Linked DNA regions of Homo sapiens: region 2 is linked to region 1. Evidence: promoter capture Hi-C in human tissues and cell types (Jung and others, 2019). All regions are on one chromosome and are shown on one strand. Each heading gives the region's core, a stretch centred on a gene start or on the middle of the fragment in contact. The rest is flanking DNA. Distances are from core to core; before and after follow the strand shown.

Region 1 (5,845 bases), core at 1,747-4,246:
GGCTGAATCTGAAGTCAAGGGATTGATTTTTTTGGTTTTTGTTTTTAATAAACATTCCAACTCATATCAGATGAATGCCTCCTTCAAAGGAGTCATTCTGGGAAGTTCTACACTTATTCTAATTATGTCCCTGTTTTCAAATTATGATGTCTGGTGTTGCTTTCAGGGTTTGTGAGATAGTCTTTTGAATGCTCTCAGTGTTGACTCTTGAAAGTAGATTTGATTTTAAAAAACAATCAAGGGTTCTGGGCCAAATCTGGTGAACTAGGGGGGCGGTCAAACTGTGTAATGCCAAGAGGGGTGACTCTAATGTATCCAGGCTGATTTTTCTTGAGTGAATTTGTAGTCACCAGAAGGCACTTTCTGAAGACAAACTCAGACATGAAGTAAACATGTTATAAGCATGACATCAAGCTTGAGTTTGGGGAGGAGAGTTGGAAGATGGTGACTGCGCTGAAGGAAACCCCACTCATTTGGGTATGCAAGTTTTCTAGGATCTCCTCTACCCAGAATATTTCTTCAGGTCCAGATCTATCCTATTTCACAGGACCACAGTTCCCAGACTTACAAGGATCCTACTGCCTTAGTCAACTTTTAACCCCCAACCTGAGTACTTCCCTCCCCCCCGGGCAAAGACAGGGTCTTGCTCTTTTGTACAGTGGTGGGATTACAGCTCATTGCAGCTTTGAACTCCTGGGCTCGAGTAATCCTCCCGCCTCAGCTTCCCAAAGTGCTGGGATTAGAAGCATGAGCCGCCGCGCCCGGCCCTGGACCTGAGTACTTGATATGTGTGCAATCAATACCTGATGGGAAATTAAGTATGGGGAAGAACGTCTAAGGTGTCTGGGTTTAGTCTACATGATTCAAAAGGCAGAAGAGGTAGAAGGATTTGGAGACACAAATTCTGCTCTATATGAGGAAACATTGTCAGCCACTGGAGCTGTCCAGCAATGGAATTAGTTTGCTCTGTAAATAGTGAGCTTTCGGCCCTGGGAGGAGTTTAAAGCAAAGGCTGCTTGTATGGGAACCTGCAGAGGTGTCTCCTGTAATAGGTGGGGAGCTATGCAATGACCTTCAAGGGCTATCTCCCACCTACACAGTATCTGACATTTGGTAGGCCTTGGAAAAACCTGGTAGAATGGAACAAATAAGGAATATGGTGCATCTTGTGAATCAAGTAGAGAGGAAAGAGGCCTGGGGCTCAATCAGGAGCAAGAAGTGAGGCAGAAGTGAGATGAAAATAGCCAGGGAGCCAAGAGGTAGAGTCTTCCTTGGGTTTTTAGTACCATAGGAGAGAAATTGCTTTGGGTACCTAGAGCCTCACGTGGTTAGGAAAGGATAATACCTTTGAAGGGGATAGGAGTTGGGGGAGAAGATAGACTACTGCTCACCCTTCTTAAACTCCTCCAGAACCGTGTCCAGTCGGGTGTCATTGAAAACACAATGCAGGGGCCGGTTGTAGAAGCGGGTGACAGTGAGGAGCGGGGTGCAGTCGTCGGGGTCCACGAAGGCCAAGTCCTTGACAAATAAAATGTCCACAATGTTGTGCCGCTGGTCACCCTCGTACACTGGGATGCGAGTGTAGCCGCTGCGCAGGATCTCGGAGACAGTGGCGAAGTCGAGCACCGCGTCTGAGCGCAGCATGAAGCAGTCTCCCAGGGGGGTCAGCACCTCCTCCACAACTTTGGTGCGCAGCTCCAGGGCACCCTGTATGATGTTGAGCTCCTCCTTCACCAGGTCACTGTAGGGGTCTGCGGCCCGCAACGTCTCCAGCAACTTCTCCCGCGTGTAGAAGGTGCTTATCTCCTGGCGCAGCGCCCAGTCCAGCAGGCGGCCCAGCGGGTAGCACACGGGGAAGGCGGCTGCCATCAGAAGCCGGGTCAGGCACACGCTGTGCGAGGCGATGGCCAGCCCGTGCCGCGAACACACTGAGTAGGGGCAGATTTCGGCGCCCAGGAATACCGCGCCGGTGCACACGAGCGCCGGCAGCCACGGGAAGTGGATCCCCTCTTCGCTGTAGTCTTCCCCGGTGCCCCCGAAGCCCGGCGGCAGCGAGGTGTACAGCCAGCCAGCCAGGGCCGCGTTGGCTCCGGCTTGGCCCAGGAGTAGGGTGCAGAGCAGATGGGTCCCCCTGCCGCGAACGGCCTGCACGCGGCGCGCCTGCTCCTGCTCGGCGGCCGAGCCGCTGTTCCGCAGCACCCGTAACTCCACCGGGTCCAGCGACAGCAGGCTCAGGCGCAGGCCGCTGAACAGGGCCGACAAGGCTAGCAGCAGGAGCGCCCCGAGCGCCCGCAGCCACGCAGGGGGCAGCAGGTCCCCGCCTGGGCCGTACAACCGCGGGCGAACGCGCAGCAGGAAGCCGCCGGCGGCGCCGTGGTGGTGCCACGCGCGCCCATCCCAGGCGCAGAGTGAAAAGAGCTTCCCGCCACCGCCCGCGCCGCCCCGCTCCGCTTCGCCCTTGCGCAGCTCCCGCACTCGCACCTGGACCAGGGCCGAGCCTGCCACGCCCCCGGGACGCAAGGGCCCCAGGACTTCCACGTCCGATGCCCAGTCGCTCTGCTCCCTGCAGCGCTGCGGTCCCGGGGGGCGAGTGGGGACCGCGCTGGGGGCCACGCCGCCACCGCCCGGGGGCTCCTCGATGAACACGAGCCGCGGAGCCCAGTCGCCGGTGCCATTCTCCCCCGAGTTGAGGGTCGGTGAGGGCACCGGTGCGGCGGTGGCCGGCGGTCCTGGCTGGAAATAGACACGCAGGAGGAAGCTGGTGCCTTCGGCGGCGCGCAGGGTGCCCCCCTCCAGGGACACGCGGCCTCCAGCAGTGTCCTCGGGCCGCAGGCCCAGCAGCCAGGCGGCGGCGGCCGGGGGCCGAGGAGACAGGGAAAAGAAGAGCAGGAGCACAGCGCCTCGGCTGCAGCAGTCCCGGAGCCTGACACCCACCGCTGCTGCCGCCGCCGCGGCCGCCGCCATCCTGCACCCAGCGCAGCTGCACGTGATACTGCAGGAAGCCGAGCGAGAGCTGGAGGGAGGAGGAGCCGGAGCTGGGAACCCAGCCGCAGGCAGGTCACCACGTGTACGCCCACTGCGCGCGTGGGCTGGTGGCGGTGGGCATTCAGACTCCACCTGGGCAGGAGGTCCCCGCTGGAGGCTGGAGGTGGCCAGGCATCACCGCACTGTGCGTAGCGGGTACACACTTCGGTATATCTGAGATGCAGCCTGAAAAGTCTGGGTTTGCAGCATGGCCTCCTACTCCAAAAGTAAGGTGCTCCTCTGCGAACTCCTACCCGGCAGTAATTCCCTGCCGGCTCCACTGCTTCCCCATTGGCCCGGGAAATTTCCCAGCTTTTCGCTTCTCCTGCCACTTGCATTCCCCCTTCTGGTCAAAAGAATATTCTGGAGTCAAGTCTTGAATATGTGAAAACTTTTAGCCTCAACTCCAGCCGACCTTTCATTATTGTAAACATTTCTGGATTATTTAAGTTCAATTCTTAGTTAAGATCCGAATGTCCATCAATAAGAAACTGTTGAAATAAGTGAAACCACTGTGCAATGGAATACTATGCGGCAATAAAAAATAATGCGGTGGATCTGTTGTATATGTGATACGGAAAAAAATCTCCAAAGTAATTGTAGAAACAAAGTAAGGTGCAGAACAGCAAGTATAATATGCTACCATTTGTGTTAAAAGTATTTATGTATAAATTTGTACACACACACACACTTATATGAGATTTATTTATTTATTTATTTATTTTGAGATGGAGTCTTGCTCTGTCGCCCAGGGTGGAGTGCAGTGGCACAATTTTGGCTCACTGCAACCTCCACCTCCCGGGTTCAAGCGATTCTCCTACCTCAGCCTCCTGAGTAGCTGGGATTACAGGCGTGCGCCACCGCGCCCAGCTAATTTTTATATTTTTAGTAGAGATGGGGTCTCACCATGTTGGCCAAGCTGGTCTCGAATCCCTGACTTCAAATGATCCATCTGCCTCGGCCTCCCAGGGTGCTGGGATTACAGGCGTGAGCCACCGCGACCCGCCGTTTACATCTTTTAATTAATTTATTTATTTTGAGACGGAGTTTCGCTCTTGTCACCCAGGCTGACGTGCAATGGCGCGATCTCGGCTGACTGCAACCTCCGCTTTCCAGGTTCAAGCGATTCTCCTACCTCAGCCTCCTGAGTAGCTGGGATTACAGGCGCCCGCCATCACGCCCGGCTAATTTTTTTTTTTTTTTTTTTTGGTAGAGACGGGGTTTCACCACGTTGGCCAGGCTGGTCTCGAACTCCTGACCTCAGGTGATCCGCCTGCCTCGGCCTCGCAAAGTGCTGGGATTACAGGCATGAGCCACCGTGCCTGGCGGGTTACATCTTAATTATAGTACAATATCAAAAGCAGGAAGTTGATATTGGTGTAATGTGTGTATATAGTTCTCTATCATTTTATCACATGTATGGATGTATGTGACCATCACTGCACTCAAAATACAGATCTATTATCACCAAGATCTGGGAGGGAGACTTTCTTATTAAATTCCTTATATTGTTTGAATTTACTCGACTATATTATTTTTATGCATTTATTTTTAAACTTTATATAGTAAAATTCACTTTTTGGTGTACTGTTCTATGAATGTTGACAAATGCATATACATGTAAACATCACAATAAAAAGTAATTCCATCACCACCACCCCCCAAATTCTCTTACCGTCCTATTGTATGTAGTCAACCCCTCCCTTCGTCTTATCCTCTGGGAACTACTGATCTGTTCTCCCCTATAGTTTTCTTTTCCGGATTATCATATAAATGGAGAATACAGTCTGTAGCCTTTTGGGTTCTCCCTTCCTTTACTAAGTTAGCATAATGCATTTACGATTCATCTATGTTGTTGTGATTTTCAGTAGTTCATCCTTTTGTATGGCTGAGTAGCATTCCATTATATGGATGTGTCACTGTTTGTTTATCCATTCAATAAAGGATATTTAAGTTATTTCCAGTTTTTAGCAATTATTAATAAAGTGGCTATGAACATTTGTGTGATGGTTTTTGTGAGAACATAAATTTTTATTTCTCTTGGGTAAATTTATCATAAGTCTGTATTACATTTTAAAATATAGTAATCCTAACTACTTGGTAGGCTGAAGTGGGAGGATCTCTTGAGGCCAGGAGTTAGAGACCAGCCGGAACAATGTAGGGAGGCCCTGTCTCTAAAAAATTAAAAATTAAAAAAAATTAGCCAGGCATGGCGACACATGCCTGTAGTTTCATCTACTTGGGAGGCTGCAGCAAGAGGATCACTTGAGCCCAGGAATTCGAAGCTGCAGTGAGCTATAATCGCATCACTGCACTCCAGCCTGGGCAACAGCATGAAACCTTGTCTCTAAAAATAATTAATAAATTAAAAAGGAAGAGTTATTTTACATACCACCCTTGGCACCTGGGTTTAGTGTAAAATCATCCCTATGTGTGAAATCTCATTTTCCGTGGCATTTGTGACATGCCATTGTCTCAGAATACACTAGATCCTGTCCACTATAAGCTGCTTTTTGCATGGGCTACTTAAGAGACAGAAGGGAGGTTTAATCTTATGAGGGAACATTGAGGCATTTATTCGAAGTATAAGGGAAGGAGAGAACTGGGGTCAACCATATGATTGTTTTTCTTCCTTTCTTTCTTTCTTTTTTTTTTTTTATTGAGACGGAGTCATGCTCTGTCACCCAGGCCGGAGTGCAGTGACGCGATCTTGGCTCACTGCAACCTCCACCTCCTGGGTTCAAGCAATCCTCCTGTCTCAGCCTCCCAAGTAGCTGGGATTACAAGAGTGTGCCACCACACCTGGCAAATTTTTGTGTTT
Region 2 (5,845 bases), core at 2,615-5,114, 890 kb after region 1:
CTGAGTTTTGAGAGCTTCTAATATATTTTGGATGGAATCCTTTATCAGATACATGTTTTACAAATATTTTCTTTCAGTTTGTGGCTTGTGTTTGTATTCTCAATGGTATCTTTCAAAGAGCAGAAGTATTAGAACTCGAGTTTATCCATTTTGCATTTATGGATTATGCTTTTAGTGTTATATCTAAGAAATCTTTGCCCAACTTACAAAGAGTTTTCTCTACATATTCTTTTGAAAGTTTTATAGTTTTAGGTTTTATATCAGGTCTGATGATCTACTTTGAATTTTTGTGTGTGGTATGAGCTATGGATTGAAGATAATTTTTTTTTTGCATGTGGACATCCAGTTCAACAGTTTAACATTACAACTCAGAAATACTTGTCATTTTCACTTACATAATTTCCACTCTACATTTTAAAGGAGTAATTTATTTTGAAAATGTTTTCCAGATTAATTTTGGGTTAAAAATATTTTTACTGGGGATGCAGTGGAAGGTGTTCTTACATTTCTGCAGCATGGGCTGATTGCCTCTCTGTCCCTTTCTGCTCTAAGGGGTCTCATCATCCAGCCAATGAGTGAGCTGACTCCACCTCAGGGAGTCCATTTACCATCAACATCACTCGTGTTCTCATCACAGTCTTTAGGCAAACACAAGATATCAGAGATCATAGACATTCAAGTGGTTTTATTTAAGCTAACTGTTAGGCTTTTTTATTTTTTAACAGTCAATACATATAATATTTAAATTAAGAATTTTTAAATATTTCAGTTTTTAAACTACTGTTACAACTATGTCAACTTAAGAAGCAAACTATTTGGTGGCCTTTCTCTTCCTCTTTATTGAAAACCTGGCAAAGGAACGAACTCCTGAATTTTCAGTTCCTAAAAATGAGTAGTGTAAAGGAAAGGTGGTCTTTAAAGTTTTTTTTTTTTGTTAATGTGCAACACATTCTTTTCTCATCATATAAATAATGAGTTAATTGTAGGAAATTTGGAAATACAAAGAGATAGTTTTTAAATGACCTATAATTCCATGACCCAGAGCTATTAGCTTTTTAATATACTTTCTTTGGGTCTTTATTTTTTCTATATAATTGGGATTATACCACATTTACAGTTTTACTGCCTGTTTTTTTTTCCACTTGCCATTATATCAAGATATTTCTTCTATTTTTTTAAATAGTCTCAGAAGCATAATTCTTAATGGAAACATTGTACTCCAGTACATGAATCAGTGTATCATCCTTTATTTAACCATTTTCCTCATATGGACATAAATATTGCTCCTAATTTGCTATATCACTCTTGCTTTAAGAAACATTTGTGCTTAAATTTTATCTCATGTCAGATAAATTCCTAGGATAAATTTAGGATAAATTCCTAAAAATAAAAATGTTGAGTCAAAAGCCATTCAAAGATATTGTACTACTTTATAATTCCGCCAAGTAATATATGAGTATGCTCCTTTATATACACCAAATATTTTTATCTCCCCTGTATTAGTCCATTTTCTTACCACTATAAAGAAATGCCCAAGACTGGGTACTCTGTAAAGGAAAGAAGTTTAATTGACTCACAGTTCAGAAGGCTGTGGAGGCCTCAGGAAACTTACAATCATGTCAAAAGGCAAAGGGGAAGCAAGACACCTTCTTCACAAGGCAGCAGGAAGGAGAAGTGCTGAGTGAAGGGGAAAGAGCCTCTTATAAAACCATTAGATCTCATGAGAACTCACTGTCACAAGAACAGCATGGGGGAAACTGCTCCCATGATTCAATTACCTCCACCTGGTTTCTCCGTTGACATATGAGGATTGTGGGGATTATGGGGATTACAATTCAAGATGAGATTTGGATGGGGACACAAAGCCTAATCATATCATTCTGCCCCAGGACCCTCCCAAATCTCATGTCCCTTTTACATTTCAAAACCAATCATGCCTTCCCAACAGTTCCCCAAAGTCATAATTCATTCCAGCATTAACCAAAAAGTCCAAGACTGAAGTCTCACCTGAGACAAGGCAAGTCCCTTCCACCTATGACCCTGTAAAATAAAAAACAAGTTACTTCCAAGACACAATGGGGGTATAGGCATTGGGTAAATGTTCCCATTCCAAATGGGAGAAATTGGAACTATGGGGCTACAGGACCCATGCAAGTCCAAAATCCAGTGGGGCAGTCAAATCTTAAAGCTTTGAAATGATCTCCTTTGACTCTATCCACGTCCAGGTCACACTGATACAAGAGGTGGGCTCCCAAGGCCTTGGGCAGCCCTACCCCTGTGCTTCTGCAGGGCACAGTCCTCTTCCCAGCTGTTTTCACAGGCTGGTGTTGAGTGTCTGCGGCTTTTCCAGGTGCATGGTGCAAGCTGTCGGTGGATCTACCATTCTGGGGGCTAGAGGATGATGGCCCTATTCTTACAGCTCCACTAGGCAATGCCCCAGTGGGGACTCTGTGTGGAGGTGTCTGACCCCACATTCCCTTAATCACTCTAGCAGAGGTTCTCCATGAGGGCTCTGCCCCTGTAGCAAATTTCTGCCTGGACATCCTGCCATTTCCATACATCCTCTGAAATCTAGGTGGAGGTTCCCAAACCTCAGTTTTTGATTTATGTGCACCCGTGGGCCCAATACCACATGTAGGTCACCAAAGCTTGGGGCTTGCACTGTCTGAAACAACAGCCAGAGCTATATGTTGGCACCTTTTAGCCATGGCTAGGACGCAGGGCACCATGTCCCCAGAGTGCACAAAGCAGCAAGGCCCTGGGCCCAACCCCTGAAACAGTTTTTTCTTCCTAGGCCTCCAGGCCTGTGGCGAGAGGGCCTGCTGTGAAGACCTCTGACAGGCCCTGGAGACATTTTTCCCATTGTCTTGGTGATTAACGTTTGGCTCTTCATTATTTATGCAAATTTCTGCAGCCAGGGCTTGAATTTCTCCTCAGAAAATGGGCTTTTCTTTTCTATTGCATCATCAGGCTGCACATTTTCCAAACTTTTATGTTCTGCTTCCCTTTTAAACATAAGTCCCAATTCCAAACCATCTATTAGTGAATGCATAAAACTGAGTGCTTTTTAGAGCACCCAAGTCACTCCCTGAATGCTTTGCTACCTAGAAATTTCTTCCACCCCAAATCATCTCTCTCAAGTTCAAAGTTGCACAGATCTCTAGGGCAGGGGCAAAATGCTGCCGGTCTCTTTGCTAAAGCATAACAAGAGTCACCTTTGTTCCAGTTCCAAATAAGTTCCTCATCTCCATCTGAGACTACCTCAGCCTGGACTTCATTGTCCATATCACTATCAGAATTTTGTTCAAAAGCATTCAATGAGTCTCTGGGAAGTTCCAAACTTTCCCACATCTTCCTGTTTTCTTCTGAGCCCTCCATACTGTTCCAACCTCTGCCTGTTACCCAGTTTCAAAGTCACTTTCACATTTTTGGGTATCTTTATAGTAGCACCTCACTCTCTGTGGTACCAATTTACTGTGTCAGTCCGTTTTCGTACCACTATAAAGAACTGCCTGAGACTGGGTAATTTATAAAGAAAAAAGGTTTAATTGACTCACAGTTCAGCATGGCTGGGGAGAACTCAGGAAACTTACAGTCGTGGTGGAAGGCAAAGGGGAAACAAGGCACCTTCTTCGCAAGGCAGCAGGAAGAAGTGTCAAGAAAAGTGGGGAAGAGCCCCTTATAAAACCATCAGATCTGGTGAGGACTCACTCATTTTCATGAGAACAAGTTGAGAACAGCCTGGGGGAACCACCCCCATGATTCAGTTATCTCCACCAGGTCTCCCTTGACACGTGGGGATTATGGGGATTACAAGTCAAGATGAGATTTGATGGGGACACAAAGCTTAACCATGTCATCCCCTCACCAAAAAAAAGTTCTATTCCTGCAGAAAAAGCTATAGTCATGCCCTGCTTAATGATGGTGATACATTCTGTTAATAACAAACTCATCATTAGGTGATTTCCTTGTCATGTGAACATCATAGTGTGTGCTTACACAAACCTAGATGGTGTAGCCAACTACACACCTAGGCTGTACAGTATGGCCTGTTGCTCCTAGGCTGCAAACCTACAGCATGTGACTGTACTGAATACTGCAGGCAGTTGTAACACAATGGAAATGTTTGTGTATCTGAATGAACATAGAGAAGGTATAGCAAAAATAAAGCAGTATAATCTTATGGGGCCACTATCATGCGTGGTCTGTTGCTGACCAAAACATTGCTCTTCAGTATGTGACTATACTGCTTTTACGATGAGTTTCTATCAACATCTAGATTCATAAGTGACTTCTCTATTAATAAAATTTGTTCAAGAAAATCATGGTATATGAATAATTCAGCAAATATTTGAATTCTTGCCTGTTTATGGAATTCTCGCCTATCTGTGGGGTATTCATTAACCAAATATTAATTGGGAACCTACCATGTGCCAGTCTCTCGGGGTAAAGCAGTAAACGTAGCAACATGATCCTTGCTTTCATGGAACTTAGAGTCTAAAGAAGGACATTGTACAGTGAACCAGATGGCAAATAAGTACCATGAGTTCAGATAGTGACAAATAGTCTGGAGAAGTTAAATGGGGTATGGGATGGGGAGTGACAGAGGTGGAGGGCGGTAGCCTGAGGTGGCCAGAAAAAAAAAAATCTGAGCTGGAACCAGAATGATAAGTAGGAGCCACTGTGAAAGCTGGACAGACTAACTGTGGGAGCTGGGTACAGTCCTTGGTTCCCGAATGTTGGCAGGAAAACCTACTCCATAGTGCTGTGTCCCACTTGTACTTCAATGCTGCACCTTCCCGCTGGCCAGTTGCCTGTCTTTCTTTTCAAGGCAAGGTCTTACTCAGCTTCTTGTAGACTTCCCCAGCTCCAAGTTAGGACTGTGCCTTCCCCATATTTCATTCACGTCTCCTGAAATCTTCTTGGGAAGTCTGCTGTTTTCTTCCTTTCTTTTTATTCCACTACGGAGAATTTGAGTTGTAACTGTTCCACTGGCTTTATCCCATTTTATTCACACATTTGCAACAAACTTGTCCAGTTCCTTTTTGTTTTTGTTTATTTGTTTTGTTCCTTCTTTTGGAGAGCTGAGAGAATGGATGGAGGAAGAGCTTATCAAAGTCAATGCAGGCTTGTTATGGAAAATAGGAAAAGTACAGAAACATACTTAAAAATAGAGGGAAAAAAATCACTCCTAATTCCTCTATCCAGAAGTAACTTTAATAGTGTTGGCTTTCTCAGTATTTTATCAATACTTCGTTTTTTCTATGCATTCACATTCTTGTTTTATTTTTAGCTACAACATTGTATCAGAGGAATTTTCCATGTCATTGAAACACTCTAATATTTTAAGTGGCTATAGACCCTTCCATAATTTTGATGTGCTGCTATTTATTTAACTATTTCCCTGATACTAGATGTTAACATTTTTTTTCCAGTTGTTTGCTATTATAAATTAGGCAGTAGTGAACATCTTTGTGCATGTATCTTTGTCCCAATCTCTGATCATTTTCCTTAGGACAAATTTTCCAAAGTAGACTTATTGCAAAAAACAGCATAGACTTTGGTACATGCTACAAACTTCCTTCCAGCTCCCCGTTCAGTGCTCCCCACATTCCACTGTTGTAATGAGGCCCAATTCCTTAATGTTTCCTTCTAGATTCAGAGCCTAAACAGCACCATTACCCAGCTGGCCCTCCCCATTCTTCCTAACCACCACCCGAAGTGTTGGGGACAGTCTCTTTTTGCTCCCCTCCCTACCAGGACAGTGATACCCTCCCAGGAGGGTCTAACACTATGGAACCCTTGATATCAAGGCCTGATCTTGTCCCTTCCTTAGTTCTTGGTG

The links. The method cuts DNA at HindIII sites, captures the fragments that hold promoters and counts their contacts. A contact is called where the count stands out against the background at its distance.
Region 2: a fragment that was not itself captured here is called in contact with the fragment with the promoter of CNNM1 in region 1 in 4 of the 25 tissues and cell types used here (bladder, dorsolateral prefrontal cortex, mesenchymal stem cells and 1 more).

Annotation. Positions count from the first base shown.
Region 1 is chr10:99,326,507-99,332,351 of GRCh38, reverse strand. CNNM1 (cyclin and CBS domain divalent metal cation transport mediator 1) reads right to left here and starts at 2,996. Exons shown (of 11, transcript NM_020348.3): 1 at 1,392-2,996. The coding sequence starts at 2,964. The HindIII fragment of the contact is 11,915 bases long and covers 1-5,845 here.
Region 2 is chr10:98,435,816-98,441,660 of GRCh38, reverse strand. The region is part of intron 3 of HPS1 (HPS1 biogenesis of lysosomal organelles complex 3 subunit 1); the gene reads left to right. Among named protein-coding and RNA genes, the nearest start is that of MIR4685, 7.4 kb to the right of the region's middle. The HindIII fragment of the contact is 6,299 bases long and covers 715-5,845 here.